Regions from separate parts of the Homo sapiens genome. Here region 2 is linked to region 1. The links are contacts of gene promoters, found by promoter capture Hi-C in blood cells and fetal thymus (Javierre and others, 2016). All regions are on one chromosome and are shown on one strand. Each heading gives the region's core, a stretch centred on a gene start or on the middle of the fragment in contact. The rest is flanking DNA. Distances are from core to core; before and after follow the strand shown.

Region 1 (3,129 bases), core at 109-2,608:
ACCCCAGACACACCAATGCTTTATACATTTTAGTAAAAGACCAGCTCCAAACAAAAAGACCCATAATCCTACCCAGATACACCAATGTTTCATATACTAAAAAGACCAGCTCCAAGTATTGTTTTAAGGTTTAAAGTTCTTTGTCAGAAGAAAATCTAAGTCAGATGCTATTTTTAAACATTAAGGCATTCTAATAATGATAAAACTAGTTAATAAATAATAATAATAGTTATCATTATTAAACACCAATAGACTAATCCACATTAATACATTTGACCATAGAGCATTTTGCTTTAGATTGGAAGGCATATAGTGGTTTCTTTTAGAAAGAAGCCAAATTATTTGATTATTTTAAGTAACAGTAATTCGTCCGGTTCCGAACGATGCCGCAGTAAAAGGGTTGTGAGGTTAATCCCCAGAAGTTTGTGTTGGATTATTTCTGAGGGAGCGGCAGAGCCCCCTAGACACCACTCCATCCCTCCCTCCAGCCGTCAGGGCTTCACTTTCTAGGGAACTCTGTTTCTCTTTTGTTCTGAAATCTGCCCAGCCCTCTCCCCCTCAGGAAGACACCCGGCATCCTTCCAGTCCTGGCCACTTCCCGGCAGAGCCCCCGAGCCCGGCTTGCGAACTGGTGAACACGCAACAGGTTTCCTGTTTTCCCAGCCTTTGCCTGGCTCCGAGGCTGCAGCGGGCTTGGTCTGGGAAGTGGAAGAATTGGAGATTCCGTGAACACACCGGGGAGAAACACGAGAGAGGGGCGAGCCGAAACCAAGCAACACTGTCCAGTTCTGTGAGCGCCTCTGCACGTTCAAACAGGAAAAGGCTACCTCGCTCTTCCAAACGAAGTTTTCCCGGAAAATGGTGTAGGTTGGAATAAACGGAAGAGATGGGGAAGGAGCGCACTTTGGGGCGCCTGTTCCTCATAATAAAACGTAACAGGGAGAGAGAGGCCAAGAGGAACGGACACAGAGTCAGAGAAAGGCAAAGACTGAGGAGGCAGAGACAGAAAGAGCGAGAGAGACAGAGACAGAGACAGAGAGAGAGACAGGGAGAGAGAATGAATGAACGAACCGGTAGGACGAACGCCCGACCCCAGTGCGAAATGCAAAGTGTTCCAAAGACAGAGCTCGAAGGAGGCGGAGGGACCAGACCCCGTGCCGCGTCTCCGCGCAGGTTCCGCCCGGGCCGGCCGGGGACCTGTAGTCCCAGCCCCGGGGTCCCCACGCTCCCCCGCAGGAGCCGAGACGAGCCCCCAGCCCCGCGCTCACCTGCGGGGTCCAGCAGGCCCAGGGGCCCGGGCACCGGCGGCTGCATCCCGAGGCCCCACCCGGCTCTCCCGGGGCCACAGCCACAGTCCCGCCGCCAGGAGCCGCCCTCGCGGCGCCGCCCCTTCCCCGCCCCCTGCACCTCCCCGCGCTCCGCCCGCCTCGCGTCCTTCCTCGCTCTACTCTCCCTTCTCCGGCGTTTCTTCTCCTCCCTCCCCCGCTGCGCCCGCTCCCCCTTCTCCCCTCCAGCGGCCGCCTGGTTTCTGGAAATCAGGACGCCGCGGCCGGGAGTGGAAGCCAGACCCCAGATGGAAGGTGCCTGGAGAGGACCCTGCGGACTCGGGGTCGGAGCCCCGGCCTGGGACGGTGACCCCGGGCCTTCCGCCGCTGGCGCCACGCTCAGCCCTTGGCGGTGCCGCTGAGTGGGTCACCACGGGTTCGCCTCCCCATTGGCCGGTGACGGAGCTCCTTGGGGCTACAGGGCCAGCCAGCCCTTGATCTCTGGGTTCAGAGGGTGGTACATGGTGTTACAACCCAGTCTGCGAGGAACGAGTAAATGAGGAACAAACGCAAATGAGTAAATGAGGAACAAACGCATCTGGCACCTCACTCAGCAGCCCCGAGGCAGGGCTGACCCGCCTCTCCAAGGCCTGCGTCTTTGTGTCCACAGCACTGAAGTTGTTCTGAGTAAAATCTGCTGCTGGAAAGAAGGGCAAGGAAACACGGGGCCAGAAAGGGTGCCTCGTACAGCAGCAGGAAAAAATAAAGATCCTTCTAAACGTATTTTTAACATCTTTGAGTCAAGGACATCAGCGGTCCCGTCACAAAAGAAGATGCTTGAACGATCAATAAACTCAGCCCCCGGAATTAGGGGAACGCTGTGGGAACAAGAGGATGCGTTTCACCCTCATCCTATCAGAAAACCCCAAGGGTCAAACAACTTAAAGAATGTTAATGAAAACGTGGGAATCTGCATTCACCGCTGGGATCACGCATGGTGCCACCACTTTGAAAGCAACCTTTAGGAAAATTGAAGCAAGTAGATGACAAGCCAGAAAGAAAGCATATCTCTTTCTAGATATGCCCAAGAACACAAACATAGATCTGCTCCTTCGAGCCAGGAGCCGTGGTTCTCAACCCCGGCTGTCGTTAAAGTCATCCAGGAATGTCTTTAAAAGAAAAAACATTTCTGCAGCACTGAACCCAGACCAGATCAATTGAACCAGAACTTCTGGGAACAAACTAATAGCTAAGAATTCCCTAGTCATTCTAATAGGCCATCCACTGTGAGAGAGAAACTACCACAAGAAGTATGCATGTGCTAGAAGATGCGTACAGAATATTCCTCACAACACTGTGTGTCCAAAGCACCGGACACACCCTGAATATCCAACACGGGGAGAAGCGATAAAGAAATGGGCATATACAGCGAAATACCACATGGCAGTTAAAATAAATGAGAGCTACATGGATCAATGTGGATAAATGCCAAAAACAGAACGCGGAGCAAAAATGCAAGTGCACAGTACGGCAGCGAGTACGACAGCAAGTACGGCAGCGAGTATGGTACCATTTATATAAAGTTTTAAACCATGAAAATTAACACTGTTCACTCAGTGAGCCTCTCAAGACTTACTAAACATCCGCGATATACCAGACACTGTTCCAGGTACTTGGGATGTATCAATGAGCAACGTAAACAAGGATCCTGGTGGGGAAGTGAGGCCATGAATAATAATACAATAAACAAGAAAAATGCACAGCATGTCAGAGGGCAACATGCTATGGAATACACACACACATATACACATACACACATGCAGACATACACACATGCATGCACATACACACATACACACACATG
Region 2 (3,347 bases), core at 473-2,972, 570 kb before region 1:
ATTTTAGAATAAAATAATCCATGAACAGGTACAAGGTATTTACAGTAACATAATTGAAAAACATAAAATCGATATATTTCTTTAACAGAAATGTCTATAAAATTTTCTACTGTGAATCTGGAAGACTTTCAGTTCCTACTTATCAACCTGGTCTTAAGCCCCAACAGGCGACATGTAAGGCCCAGGAGTAGGATATACAAACTCTAACACATTTGGCAATTAAGAATCATCTATTAGTGTGAGCTGGCAGGCGGTGGGTGGGGGGTGGGGATGGGGAGGGAAGAACCAGATCTTAGGGTAAGATACAGAATGGAAGACTCCACTGAAAACAACTATGGACAAGAAAGATCTAAAATCACACTTATCTTTCACTTGTCTCCTGTGGGAGAAGGCTGCAAACTATTTTAAAGACTTAGTCAATTTTTCCCATTAGCAGAAAATCAGCAACCCTGAGACTCCAACATTTCATGACATAAAAGCTAATAAACATCTAGAAGCTGATTAAGATTTATAAACTAATTTTACATCAGATAGAAAATAACTCTTATGATTTAAAAATACATGTAAGGAAACAAAATTTCTCAAATTTATTTTTCATGCCTAATTCTTAAACATTTCAACTAATATTTTCTATTGTCTGAAATTAGTTCCACACACAGATACACTTTAACTGAATGCTTTGAGTACAACTTGCTCTTGATTATTAAATGGAATGCCTACTTCCTTGTATTATTATTCATACATATTTAAAAGAAATGAGAAGTTTAATCCATCTGGACTATACAGAAATTTATTGACTTACAAGATAGTCACATAGACAGAGACCAGAAAAAAATGATCAAATGCTCATTCTTAGTAACACAACTGAGACAGTGAAACACGGTACACCATACATGTCATCTACTGATCCAACTATGCTATCTGATAAGCTATACTTACAAAGAATGGTTCCAACAAACACCTTTGTAGAACAAATATTCACACTGTGTTATCAAATTTGCTGCTCCTCCAGTGGCGGTTCAAGAGCTTCCATTAGCTTTTTATTTGCCTCTTCATTATGCCGGCTTTGACAATGAGTTAAATGTTTCTTAAAACCTCTTGGGAAATTTGATTCAAAATTACAACGTGGACATTTAAGTAAACTTTGCCCATGGGCTGCTACATGATTTTTAAGGAGAGATTCCAAAAGAAAAGCCTTTCCACAGATTGTGCATTTGTAAGGGCTATGAACATTATGCTTATTAACCAAATGATGCAAAACAGCACCTTTTTTCATAGCACGACAGCAACAAATTTTGCAATAATACTTTCCTTTTCCACGCTTCATGTATTTTGCAATCTCCTCTTCAGAGATAAAAGCTTCTTTTTCTTCAGTAAACTGTAGCACATTTCTAGACTGCTCTGGACTAGTCATGTCCATTTTGTTCTCTTTGCTAAAATCAATGGATTCCACATCAACCTGCTCTTGATCACTGCTTGATTCCTGGCCCTTAATATCCATCGCATCCAAATCTGTTTTTATGTACTCACTACTACTAAGCTCAGCGTCTGAGCTCTCTTGGTTGTCTTTCTTGAGCTTCTTTGAGGAAGGAAATAAAGTATCTTCTAAGAGTTTCTTAGGTGAAGCTAGAAGTTCTTCCTGAACCAAAATATCACATTTTTGATCATCTATGGCATCTATTTGTAGTTCATCACCAAGCTCAACAGCCTTCTGTGATTCTGAGAATAGAGCAGATTTGGGGAGTTCAGGGAAAAGGGCATGCTTCCGGGGCTCTGGAAAAAGGGCACGTTTGCGTGCTTCTGGAGAAGCAGGAGGGGCTGTTTTGGCAGGCTCGGGAAACAGGGCAGGTTTTCTAGGCTCAGTATCGATAGAGAGAACAGGCTTCCAGATATCTGAGGCTGCTTTGGGGGACTCAGATGGCCCAGAAGGACCTGGTTTTCGGGTCTCAGGGAAGACAGGTTTCTGAGGCTCAATAAAAAAGGAAGACTTCCAGAGATCAGGAGAACCACCACGGGAACTTTTCTGGGACTCAGGGAAATCAAGTGAAGCAGGAGAAGTTTTCCGCTGATCAGGAGAAAGCTTCCAAAGATCTGGTGACCCTGAGGGTTTTCTGAGCTCTGGAGATCCTGCTGGACTACGGATCTCTGGGGATAGTGGTGGGCCGGGTTTGCGAAGCTCTGGAGACACTGGGGGAACTGCCTTCCAATGTTCAGGAGACAACGTGGGAGCTGTCTTTCGGAGTTCTGGTGGGCCAGACTTCCATGACTCAGGAGATGCAGGGGGAGACTTCCAGGAGCTGGGTGAGACTGATGAAGATTTCCAGGATGCAGAAGACACAGATGGAGTTGGTTTCCAAGGTCCAGGAGATACAGAAGGAATTGGTTTCCAAGGTCCAGGAGACACAGATGGAGCAGGTTTAGCTGGCTTCCAAGGTCCTGATGATGCTGAAGGATTGGATTTCCAAGGCCTAGGGGACCCAGGTGGCCCTGGTTTCCAAGAGCCTGGTGACACAGCGGGGGCTGGTCTCCTAGGCTCTGGGGAGACAGCAGGGAACGGCTTCCAAGGTTCAGGAGACTCTGAAGGGGATGGCTTCCTTGGCTCAGGGGAGGTAGTCCGGGCTGACTTCCGAGATTCTGGAGATGCAGCTGGGGATGGTCCCCAAGGTTCTGGGGAAGCAGCTAGAACTGGTGACTCTGGAGATGAGGCTGAAGGTGGCCCCAATGTTTCCGGGAAATGAGACTGCTTCTGGGGTTTGGGATTACTAAGAGTAGCCTTTACTGACTCAGGAGATACAGGGGCAGGTTTCTGTGGTTCTGGAGAAGGAACAGGGGCAAGTTTCTGAGACTCACAAACAGGGACTGATTTTGGAGGTTCAGGAGAAGAAACAGAGGCAGGTTTTGAAGGCTCAGGAGAAGGAAGAGGTGTCTGTAGCTCAGGAGAAACAACAGAGCCAGGTTTCTGAGGCTCCAGGGGAGTAAGAGGAGTAGGTTTTGGCGATTCTGGAGACAAAACTGAACCAAGTTTCTGTGTTTCCATTGAAAGGGCAGGTATGGATTTTGGTTCTGCTGAATTGCAGGGTATTTTCTGGTGTTCAGGAAGAGGAGGGCTTTTCACAGGATCTGTTTCTTTGTTCAACTGATTTTTTGGTTTATCATTCCATTTGTCTGGGGATGCATGTTTGGATGTGATGTGATAGTATACATTAGAGTACATCTTGCTGGTGAAGAAGCATTTATGGCAGTGAAATAACTTTGCACTTTTCTGGTAAAATATCATTTTGCCTAGCCCACCAGCATCCATTTCATCACAAAATTCTGGATGGATGGTACCCATATGGATTTGTACA

The links. Contacts are between HindIII fragments. The CHiCAGO score rates a contact against its expected background, and 5 or more counts as called.
Region 2: a contact is called between a fragment that was not itself captured here and the fragment with the promoter of TMEM255B in region 1, in 2 of 17 cell types (naive CD8 T cells and naive CD4 T cells). The highest score is 8.4, in naive CD8 T cells.

The regions. Positions count from the first base shown.
Region 1 is chr13:113,757,455-113,760,583 of GRCh38, reverse strand. It overlaps TMEM255B (transmembrane protein 255B), which reads right to left and starts at 1,358. Exons shown (of 9, transcript NM_182614.4): 1 at 1,269-1,358. The coding sequence starts at 1,314. RefSeq lists enhancers at 639-1,140, 1,697-2,198. The HindIII fragment of the contact is 10,322 bases long and covers 1-3,129 here.
Region 2 is chr13:114,323,926-114,327,272 of GRCh38, reverse strand. CHAMP1 (chromosome alignment maintaining phosphoprotein 1) reads right to left here. Exons shown (of 3, transcript NM_032436.4): 3 at 1-3,347. The coding sequence ends at 992. Among named protein-coding and RNA genes, the nearest start is that of LINC01054, 8.3 kb to the left of the region's middle. The HindIII fragment of the contact is 721 bases long and covers 1,362-2,082 here.